Regions from separate parts of the Homo sapiens genome. Here region 1 is linked to region 2. Evidence: promoter capture Hi-C in human tissues and cell types (Jung and others, 2019). All regions are on one chromosome and are shown on one strand. Each heading gives the region's core, a stretch centred on a gene start or on the middle of the fragment in contact. The rest is flanking DNA. Distances are from core to core; before and after follow the strand shown. Region 1 has its middle 15 kb from the start of FBXW5. Region 2 holds the start of LCNL1 (lipocalin like 1).

The links. The method cuts DNA at HindIII sites, captures the fragments that hold promoters and counts their contacts. A contact is called where the count stands out against the background at its distance.
Region 1: a fragment that was not itself captured here is called in contact with the fragment with the promoter of LCNL1 in region 2 in 4 of the 25 tissues and cell types used here (dorsolateral prefrontal cortex, lymphoblastoid cells, mesenchymal stem cells and 1 more).

What each region holds. Positions count from the first base shown.
Region 1 is chr9:136,926,890-136,932,836 of GRCh38, reverse strand. No RefSeq gene overlaps it. Among named protein-coding and RNA genes, the nearest start is that of FBXW5, 15 kb to the left of the region's middle. The HindIII fragment of the contact is 3,433 bases long and covers 2,687-5,947 here.
Region 2 is chr9:136,980,216-136,985,785 of GRCh38, reverse strand. It overlaps LCNL1 (lipocalin like 1), which reads right to left and starts at 2,793. Exons shown (of 3, transcript NM_207510.4): 1 at 2,078-2,793; 2 at 1,223-1,296; 3 at 28-1,073. The coding sequence starts at 2,199. The coding sequence ends at 775. PTGDS (prostaglandin D2 synthase) reads right to left here. Exons shown (of 7, transcript NM_000954.6): 5 at 5,502-5,570; 6 at 4,931-4,953; 7 at 4,044-4,207. The coding sequence ends at 4,931. RefSeq lists enhancers at 342-897, 898-1,455. The HindIII fragment of the contact is 9,863 bases long and covers 1-4,787 here.

The sequences.
Region 1 (5,947 bases), core at 3,154-5,653, 55 kb after region 2:
TTATTCCAGGAATGCAAGGTTGGTCCAATATTTGAAGATCAACATAAGTCACCATATTAACTGTACAGGAGAAAAACCACATGAACATATCACTTGGTATAGAAAAAGCATCTTTTTTTTTTTTTTTTTGGAAGACAGTTTCCTTGTTGCCCAGGTTAGAGTGCAATGGCACGATCTCAGCTCACTGTCACCTCCGTCTCCCAGTTCAAGCAATTCTCCTGCCTCAGCCTCCCAAGTAGCTGGGATTACAGGAGTGCACCACCATGCCCAGCTAATTTTTGTTTTTAATAGAGATGGGTTTTCACCATGTTGGCCAAGCTGGTCTCAAACTCCTGACCTAAGGTGATCCGCCTGCCTCGGCCTCCCAAAGTGCTGGGATTATAGGCATGAGCCACCAAACCCAGCCATTGAAAAACATCTTGATAAAATGTCTAGTCATGATAAAAAAAAAAAAAAAAAACCCTAGAAGCAAACTAGAAGTAGAAGGGAACTTGCTCAACCTGATAAAACAGCATCACCAAAAATCCCCGTGGGTAACATGATACATAATTGTGAAAGCAAGAAAGCTTTCCCCAAGAGTGGGAATGAGGAAAGGCTATAGACTCTTACCATTACTATTCAACCTTATAAACGGGAAGTCAGCCAATGGAACAAGGCAAGCAAAAGAAATAAAAGGCATAGAGATTGAATAAAAAGAAATAAAACTGTCCTTATTAATGGATGACATATTGTTCACACATAAAATCCCCCCAAATCTATAAAAACAAACAAAATCCTAATCTCCTACAACCAGTAAGTGAATTCATCAAGGTTATGAGGTATAAGAACAACACATAAAAATCAGTTTTGTTTTTAAACACTGGAAATATACAGTCAGAAACCAAAATTCAAAAAACAACCTCTTACAACAGCTCAAGAAACAAAGTAAGCTGTGGGATAGGAAGCAATAAATAAGTAAAAGAAACACTGAAGCATAAACCTACTAAAACATGTACAAGATATGTATACTGGCTGGGTGTGGTGACTTTTATGCCCATAATCCCAGCACTTTGGAAGGCAGAGGTGGGTGAATCACTTGAGTCCAGGACACCAGCCCAGGCAACATGGCAAAACCCTATCTCTACAAAAAATACAAAAATTAGCCGGGCGTGGTGGCACACACTTGTAGTCCCAGCTACTTAGGAGGCTGAGGTGGGAAGATCCATTGAGCCCAGGAGGTCAAAGCCACAGTGAGCTGCGATCATGCCACTGCATTCCAGCCAGTTCAACATACATATGAAATACTACAAAACGCTGATAAAGAATAGAGATAGACTATGTTCATGGATTGTCTGACTCAACACAGATGTCAATTCTCCCCAAACTGATGTGTAGACTTAACGCAATTCCAATCAAAATCCCAGAATTTTTTTGTAGTTGACTGTGAAATATATATGTACTGTCAAACAAACAAAAATAGGGAAAACAATTCTGAAAAACAACAACTGGCTGGGCGTGGTGGCTAATGCCTGTAATCCCATCACTTTGGGAAGCTGAGGCAGGCGGATCACTTGAGCCCAGGAGTTTCAGGCCAGCCTGGACAACAGAGAGACCCTGTCTCCGGCTGGGTGCAGTGGCTCATGCCTGTAATCCCAGCACTCTGGGAGGTCGAGGTAGGCAGATCTGAGGTCAGAAGATCGAGACCATACTGGCCAACATGGTGAAACCCCGACTCTACTAAAAATACAAAAAAATTACCTGGGTGTGGTGGCATGCACCTGTAATCCCAAATACTTGGAAGGCTGGGGCAGGAGAATCGCTTGAACCAAGGAGTCAGAGGTTGCAGTGAGCCAAGATGGGTCACTGTACTCCAGTCTGGTGACAGAGCGAGAGTCTGTCTCAAAAAAAAAAAAAAAAAAAAAAAAAAAAAAAAAACTCTATCTCTACTAAAAATTTAAAAAATTAACCGAGTGTGGTGGTGTGCCTGTGGTCCCAGCTACTTGGGATGCTTGAGGTGGGAAGACCTGCTTGAGCCTGAGGTCTCGAGGGTGCAGTGAGGTAGGATTTGTACCACTGCACTCCAGCCTAGGCAACAGAACGAGACTGTGACTGTCTTTAAAAAAAAAAAAAAAAAAAAAAAAAAAAAAAGGGCAGGGCAGGGCAAACGAAAAAAAAGAGAAAAGAAAACGAAAAGAAAAAAGGAAGGAGGGAGGGAGGAAAAAGGAAAAAAAGAAAAAGAGAAACAAGAATAAAGTTTGGCCAGGTACAGTGACACATGCCTATAATCCCAGCACTTTGGGAGTCCAAGACAGGACAGTGTGAGACCAGGAGTCTGAGACCACCCTGGGCAACATAGTGATATTCTGTCTCTACAAAAATTAAAGAAAATAAGCTGAGCACGATGGTGTGAACCTGTAGTCGCAGCTACTTGGGAGGCCTAGGTGGGAGGATCACTGGAGCTCAGGGGTTTGAGGCTGCAGTGAGGTAGGACTGCGCCATTGCGCTCCAGCCTGGGTGACAGAGCAAGACCCTATATCTTAAAAAGAAATTAAAAAAGAATGCTGACAACACAAAGTGCCCACAAGGATGTGGAGCAGCGGGAACTGTGGCTCATGCTGGCATTCCACAACAGGCTACAGCTATTCTGGAAAGTGCTTGGCAGTTTCTTTTGAATTTAAAAATACACTTACTGTGTGATCCAGCAGCCCCACTGCTAACTACCTTAATGAAATAAAAACTTGCTCAACAACCTGTACACAAATGTTTATAGCAGCTCTATTCAGACCTGCAAAACATTAGAAACAACCCAAACACCCTTCAACAGGTGACGAGACAAACTGATCCATCCATAGAGCACTACTCCAAAAAAAACAAAAAAAAAAGAGAGAAAACAAATGCTGATGCACGCATCCTGATCAGTCTCAGCGGCGTTCTGCAGATCTCGCTGCTCCCAGCCACGCATTGTAGGACTCCATTATGGGACCTTCTTGGAAAGACATAACTACAGTGGTGGAGGACAGGTGTGTGGCTGCCACGGGTCGGGGTGGTGACTATGGGGAAAGTGGAACAGTCTTCTGAGATGGCAGGGCTCGCCTGTCTCCCAGGTATGGTGCTTACCCACATCTGCACAGGTGTGAACATCCATGGAATTGAATGTTCCATGAACAAAACAAAAGAACAAATCAATTTTACTACGTGAAATTTAAAAATGTTATTAGGGGCCAGGTGCAACACCTGCAATCCCAGCACTTTGGGAGGCTGAGGTGGGCAGATCACCTGAGGTCAGCAGTTCGAGACCAGCCTGGCCAACATGGTAAAGCCCTGTCTCTACTAAAAATACAAAAATTAGCCAGGCGTGGTGGCTCACAGCTGTAATCCCAGCTACTCAGGAAGCTGAGGCAGGAGAATTGCTTGAACCTGGGAGGCGGAGGCTGCAGTGAGCCGAGATTGTGCCATTGTATTCCAGCCAGGAAGACAGAACGAGATTCCGTCTCAAAAAAAAAAAAAAAAAAAAAAAACACTTCCTGAGGGAGATGTAAGGTGACACAAAAGTTCGGCAATTCCTCCAAGAGCTGAACAAGCGGCCCAGCAGCTCTACTCCTCGGTATAAATATTCAAGAGAAATGAAAACAAATACACGTCCCCATAAAAACTTGTTCACAAATGTTCACAGCAGCATTTTCAGAGTAGCCAAAAAGTAGAAACCACCCAAATGTCCAGCAACGGATGAATGGATAAATAAGGTGTGGTGCATCCATACAAGAGATTATTCAGCCATTAGAAGGAATGAAACTCCAATGCATGCTGCAACACACAGGAACCATGAAAATATCTTGCTGAGTAAAAGCAAAGGCCACATTCACATGAATGTCCTGAGTAGGCAAATCTATAGAGACAGAAGGTAGGTTTATGGCTGGCTGTCAGGGGCTGAGCGGGAGGGAACAGTGACTGCTAAGGGAAGGTTTCTCTGCAGGGTGATGAAATGTCCCAAAATTAGGTAGTGACGATGGTACCTCTGTGGGTTTGCACAGAGCCTGTCACTTCCCCAGAAGGCCATGAGGCGGCTGGGCCAGGCCTGCCCACGGGGCTGCTCCAGAGCATTTTGTCCCTCAAGGGCCTTGGTCTGCTTCGTGGGAGCCTCTTGGTGTGGCAGCCAGTGCCTAGGGAATTGTTCCGAGTGCAGACCTCTGCCCCTTCTGCAGCCTGGAGCCCGATGCTGCTCTCACTGCGTGGGGGGTGCGGTCCTCAGCTCTTCCCCAGGTTCTCCAGACCTCCATCTCCACTGCAGGGAGGTGAGGGCCAGGAGGACCATCCGGCTGCTCTGGCAAAGGACCTCCAAGGTAGCTGCTCTGCCCCGTCTTTCAGTTGATCCACTTTTAGACTCTGCTCCATGCCAGGGCCTCCCGGTGTGGCCAGCTTCCCCCTCAGCCCTCTTCTGCTCAGCAGCCACCCACCAACCCACTTCCCACCTTCCAAAATGGGTTCAAATCCTTTGTGGGATGTTGGCTTCTTCCCCATCTTTGTCCCTGGGGGAGGATTTTTTTTTGGTCCATTCCTCTCATTTCACAGTTCCATTTCGTTTTAAGTGAGAAGAGATGACCTCAATCAATCTGTTTTAACAAACTGCAGTGACCCAGCAAAACCTGTCACATACAAACAAATCCCCAAATATAGAAGCCCAGTATGTTAAAGACAAAACTTCACAATCATTAGACGAAAACATGACAGTGGTTTCCAGCCTCAGGGAAGGTCAGGATGTTCTGAGTCGGTCGGAAATAGCACCATTCATAAAGGATAAGATCAGCTGATCATGTGTAAGGCTTAAGCTTCTGCACATCAGGAGCAACAGAAACGCAGTTCAAAGACACAACCGAGAATCCGTAATCAGGAATATCAGGAACTCCTACCAACCAGCAGAATAAGACCCAGACCAACAACCAGAAGAAAAATGAGAAAAAGACATCAACAGGCAATTCGCACGGGAGAGAATCCAAGGGAGAGGTAAGCGTGGTAAAGACGCCTGACTCCGCCGAGTCATCAGAGAAACGCACGTGACAGCGATGCCACTTCACTTCACACACAGCACGCTGCAGCATCTCAATTCCAACAACACGAAGCACGGGCAGGGATGGGAGGGATGGGAGTGATGGGAACCCTCCCCCTGGTGCTGGTGGAAGGACCGGATGCAGCCCCTCTGCAAAGCAAGCTGGCAACTGCTAAAAAGGGGAGGCCTAGAAACCACCAACCCTCCTTCCAGGTTGACAGGAGACCCACGAGAGCAGGTCTGGCTATCTCCAGTCACCAAACCCTGAAGACACGGGAAGAGACTGGAAGGTGCTCTCTAGGGAACTCACACACGGCAGTCAGAATCCACCATGTAGAGTGCCCAGCACAAGATGCATTAAAAGTAGCCAGGCTGAGTCAAAAGCCCAGCTACCTGCAGCTGACCCAGTGGATGGTTTCTGCATTTTTAATGCAATATTCTTATTTGTGAATACAGAAACGTACAGATGCAAAATTCTAAAGCCCAAAGAGAACCGGAACGCCTCAATTCCCGCCACGTGGCCTGGGGAGCTGAGGTGAGGCCGGGAAAGGGAACAGCAGGGCTCTGCAATGCTTGCTCTTTAGGCCCAGTACACACTCACGGAACACAGACAATGCCCGTCGGTCAGCTCCGTGCCTGAGTTATTTTCTGTACTTTTCTGTGGTCAACTTCTCAAACTACAGCAGTGCGTGAAGACGTCGAGAGGGGACAGCACTTTATCCTGGACCCCGATACAGATGCCCAGTAGGTCCCAGCACGGCTGCCCTGACACCGAGTGTGAAGCCGTGCCTACGCCTGCCTGCACTGTCCCAAAAACACACCACAGGGGCGGTGCAGCCAGGACCCTCGGTGTGGCCAGGACCCCCCGGGTGCAGCCAGGATGCTCGGTGGAGCCTGTGCACAGAAAGGCAGGACCAGGGCTGG
Region 2 (5,570 bases), core at 1,544-4,043:
TGCCCCCAAGAAACGCACAGCGCCACAGGCATTCAGGGTGTTTATTGCGCTTGGGGCCAGGGTGTGGAGGGAGGGGGCTCTTTGGGCAGGGCTGGGCGCACGGAGCAGCTGACCCCTGCGGGCACTCAGGGGCTGGACCCCTCACTGCAAAACAAGGAGCAGGTGGGCGGCGTCCCCTGCCTCCGCCCCCTCCCGACGCGCAGCCCCGCGGTTCCCCAGGCTGCTGCGGCTCGGATCCGCCCGGGTGCCCCATCACCCCCGCTGTCGTCCCTAGCTGCCCCGAAGGTAGAGGGCCCCGCGGTGCAGCCCACCGAGCTGGGAGGGCCCATGGTCCGCGGCTCCGCATGGCCATGGTCTACTCACCCGGGAGAGCGCGCCCGCACACTGGTCTGCAGAGAGATCGAGCCTGAGGCGCCACCCCGCGCCCCCTTCCCTGGGACGGAGGCCCCCGACCTGCCCCAAGGCGATCTCCTCCTGGGAACACCGGCCTGGGCAACGTCTCGCCCTCCCCCGACCCAGACAGGCTGGGTCTGCCCCGGGCACTTCTGTCCCGAATCTGAGATCAGTGGAGTGACCAGGGCCTGGCCCTTCCAGCAGGGGTGTGACCCGGGGCCTGGCCCTCCCAGCAGGGCTGCCGGCACCGCTCACCCGACTTCGGCAGCAGGACGCCCTGGCTGGGGCTCAGGCCCACTTGGGGCGCCAGTAGCTGCATCTTCTGGGCGCCTTCGGGAAACAGCTCGGGCGCTCGAGCTGAAGGTGGGGAGGGCGGGTAAGCTAAAGGGAAGGGGCTGGAGGGGCGAAGAGAGGGAGAGAGGGGCAGGGAGGGGCCGGGACCCGCGGCCACAGACACCAGGAGCCAGCGGTTCCACCTTCCGCGTGCAGAAAGGGCTGGTGCAGGCACAGGGGTGACATCCCAGACCCGAAGCGGGGGTGTCTGGGTCTCCGCCCCGCAGCCCGCCCACCGTAGAGCTGCAGCCACTGGTTCCGCAGGCCCCCTTTCCGCATCTCCAAGTACAGCAAGGCAAAGTGCTGGTAGTCGGAGAAGGCCACTCGGATGTCACTCAGGGCCATGGCTGGAGGAGCGAGAGCCGCTGACCCCAGGCCCAGGGCACCTCCCCCCCGAGCGTGGCACCCCTCACGCCCCGGCCCCAGGTGCCAATCCAGCAGTCCATGCAGCCTCCAGGGCCCCCACGCCACAGCCCTGCCTGCTGCCCCACCTCACCTGGGTTGCTGAACTGCCCCGGTACAGCACCCTCGGTGAAGGTCGTGTCCATTTTCTGGCACCCGCCATGGGGCCTGGGGAGAAAGAGCCCCAATCCCCTGAGTGGCCACCCCTGCCCAGCGCCCAGGCCTAGAGCCTACCTTGCTGTCTCTGAGCCCAGGGTCCCCTGTTCACCCTCACAATCCTTAGAGGACATGGGACTTTAGGATGACCTTAGAGGTGGGGACACTCCTGCTGGGGGTGGGGTGGGTATTAAGTACCTGTTCACAGGCACACAGCCTAGAATGCAGGGCCTCCAGGTCCCCCTTCCAGACACAGACACACAGAAGACACACACATACACACATGCACACACACGGAGATAGACACAGACACAGACACACTGACAGACACACACATAGACACGCACACAAGACACACACAGAGATAGACACACACAGCCAGACACAGATACACAGACACACAGACACACAGACGCATACAGTGATACACACATACACACTCAGAGGTACACATCTACAAAGACACACATGCATACACACGCACACACAGACACACACACATGCAGAAATAGACACACATACACAGAGACACAGCCACATACAGTGATACACACACAGACACAGACATGCAGACACTTTTCTCAACACCAGGCCTCAGGCAGTGCTTCCTCCAGGGCCTGGGTCCCTCTGGACTCCGTGTGGCTGCCATCTGGGGCTCTGCCGCACAGAGCCGTCGAGGACCCGTGGTCTGACCTCAATGTGCTGGGGACACCATGGTCCCTCTGGACCTTCATGTGGCCTCATGCTGGCCATCCTCTGAGGCTGAGTCTGATGGGCTCGTGTGGTCACTTACGTGGGGTATCCAAACTTGAGGGCCAGGTCACCATTCCCCAAGGGGGTCACTAAGACCACAGCCATCTTCATGGTGTCCTTGGAGTCCAGGAAGTCCTGGTCATCTGACACCACCCCGACCATGTACCAGGTGCCCTGGAACTGCAGGGCAAGTGCAGGGAAGGCTGGGAGGCCGCCCCTGTGCCCTGGGCCTGAGCCCACCACATTCTGCCCCGACACAGCTGCTTCCTGGCCACGGCAGGGGCTGCTGTACACATCTCGACCCCGATGCAGAACTGAGGGAGGGGGGCCTCAGTACATGAGCAACTGGCCCCCACCAGCCCAGCACCGGCCTGTCTGCAGCTGGCACCCAGGGGGTACGGCTGGATGGGTGGGGCTGTGGCAAGGTCACAGGTCTTTGTGGGGTGGGTGGGGGACAGTGAGGCACAGGCAACCAACTTGTCCCTATTTTGGGCCCTGGGGATTGTTGGGGGATGCAACTGAAAAGGTAGGATGGAGGCTGCAGTCTTCCCCAGCCAACCCCTACTCCAGTCAGACGGAGCGGGTGAGGTGGGGGTTTCCCCTGCCCCTAGCCCTGCTGAGCCTGGATCAAAGAGGGTGTGGACAGGGACCCGGGGTGCAGCACCAAAGCCGGGAGGACTCATTGGAGATGAGGAGGAAACAGGGCTGGGCACACCTGGCTGGCATCAAAGTTGGCCTGGATGGGGACCTGGGCCTGGCCTGGGGATGCCCAGAGCAGGGCAAGGAGGGAACTGATCAGCAGAGCCCGAAGCATCATGCAGCAAGATGGCATCTCCTCCGGACACGGGAGCAGGGCAGAGCTGAGGTGGCTCCTCTGTAGGCTTTACGCCCCTGAGGTGCCCTGGGGCGGCTGGCCTGGGACTGCACCCACTGTGACAGGCTTCTGATCAAGTTGCACCCTGCAGCGCTCTGGCCTGGCTCCCTCCACCCAACCCCAGCCATCCGTTGCCTTTCCTCCGGGGTGGGGCCGGATGCCTGGCAGCTGAGGGTAGTTCTGACGGGCCTCTGGGCTAGGGGGCCTGCAGCTCACCCATCCTGCCTCTTCGGCCTTCTGCAGCCCCTCTGGGATGTTGGAATCCCCCCTACCTTGAGCTCAGGCACAGCCCTAAGCCCCCTTCTCCGGGAAGGCCACCCAGAAGCTCACCCTCACCTCCGAGCCTCAAAATGCTTGGTGCCTCTGCAGGGTCTGCCTCGGGGGGGCCTGGTGGGCAGGTCACAGTGAGTCCTGCACATTGTGTACCTGAGAATGGCTGCCTGGGTGGGAATCTGGAAGGGAGCAGGGTTGGGCAGGGCACTGGCCGGGCATGGTGTGGCCGTGGTGCCAGGGCTCTGGTGAGTGGACAAGGCTGTGATCTGGAGGCCCAGGTCAGAGGGCAGGGGGCGCACAGGGAGCCAGAAGGGATATGGGGTAGCCTGTCCCCAGCCCACTCTGTCAGTCTGTCCTGATGCGGGGTGGAGACACTCTGGCATGTTTCAAACAAATGTTTCTTTTTGTCCCCTGAAACCCTTATCTCTGCCCAATCTCAGTGCGTTAATCCCACACCTCAAGATACCCAACAGGTCCAAAGCTCCTCTGGGGCCTCGAGCCTCAGGCCTTTACTGCTGAGGGGGTGACAGGGTGGCGTTGGGGGTGCAGGGCACCTGCCTAAGGGATTAGCTGAGTCACTGACCCCCAGCTCAGCACCGGCCTGGTGGCAGTGGCAGCTGAGGGGGTATGGCTCGACGTGTGGGGCTGTGGGGCAGGGGCACACGACTGTGTGGGGTGGGTGGGAGACAGTGAGGGACACCCCCTCCTAGCTGTCCTGACTCAAGACCCCACTGGGAGCAAACACTAGAGGGCCTGTTCCTTTGTTGACGTCAGGCTGAGATTTTAGAGGGGGAGGTCCGGGTGGCCAGGGCCAGGCCCAGGACGGGTGATGACAGCGCAGACAGCCAGGAGCCAGCTCTACTGACTTGCTTCCGGAGTTTATTGTGCAGGATGAAGCCTGAGTGGGCAGGGTTGCTTTGGCGGGGAGCCGGGGCAGGGGCTCGGGGAAGGAACAGAGCAGAGACATCCAGAGCGTGGGGGTCACCTGGCTGGCCGGGATCCCAGCTTCAGCCCTGGGGAGTCCTGAGGGGTGTGACCGAAAGGCTAGGATGGAGGACTGCAGTCTACCCCAGCCCACCTCCACTCCAGTCGATGGAGCAGGTGCGGGCTACGGGGACTTTTCTCTGCCCCCAGCCCCACTGAGCCCCGCTGAGAGAGCAAGATCCATCCCTGGGGCTTGGATCCCCGCTGCCCCAGGGTCTACAGACTCCACCCTTCCCAGCCCCAGGGTCCACAGACTCCAGCTCCAGCCTAGGCCTCCCTCCTGGGGGTGGTGGGTGAATCCGCCCTGAGCCTGCTCTCCGAGCTGTCCCACGGCATCCATGTAGCGTCCTTGGCCCTCCCCTTCCATCCCCTGTTCCCTCCCATCCTGTCTCCCCCACCCTGGTTTCCTCCTAGCCCAGGAGCCAGACACCCTTGCTGCCAGGTGGTCCCTGTGGTATAGCCCCTTGGCCTTGTCTGCCTGGGGCCTCGCACCTGCACCCCCCAACCATGAGCCTTCAGGAGTCAGCCCTGTTCCAGCCACTGGGACAGGTTTTCCTTCTGAGCCTCACACCTGTGCACCCATCAATGTGGGCAGCCCCAGTGTCTCCCGCCCGGCCCTGGACTGCAGCCATCGGGAAGGATGGGTCTGCAGCACCAGGCTGTCCTGGGGCCCTGATCCATCCCATCGCAGAGTGGGTTGGGTGGATGTGTGTTGAATGAATGAATGAATGAATGAATGAATGAATGAATGGAGTGGCTCACCTATTGTTCCGTCATGCACTTATCTGCCAAGAAAGAAGCCAGGGGCTGTCGTCAGAACCCCAGACTTAGGCCAATTTTCCCACTGGGCTTCCTGTTCCTCCCGTAACGCAGAGCTCGTCTTGACTGAGCCCCCAAACTGCACAGATCCCCCATCACCTCCCACCTCTCCCTGGGCACTGGAAACAAAGAGAGGGTCTTTCTCCACCTCTGCCAAGAGCAGGCTGTCCACCCCTAGGAGGCTGTGCCTGAGCCCAGTATGGTTGGTTCCCCTGTATCCCCCATGGGCACCCTCTACCCTATGCCCCCCACCAGGCTGAAGCCCCACATCCTGGGAGCTGCTGGGGCCTGGCACAGAGTGGGCGCCTGGTCTCCATGTCCCCCATGGAGGGGGCTCCTCATGAAGGGGCTGCGGGAGGGAGGTTCTGACTTGAACACTCACCCCCTCTGTCCCTGGCCCAGGCCTCGAGCAGGGCGGGGCCACCTCCTCCCCTCTGCCTCCCCCAGTCAGGAGACTGCCTGCCTGCCTCTAATCTGACCTTGATCCTCTCCCCATCAGATTAGGACCCCTCACCGGTTTGGGGCAGGAAGACAATGGTATCCTCTGTGAAGCCCTGGGCCTTGCAGAAGGCGGTGAATTTCT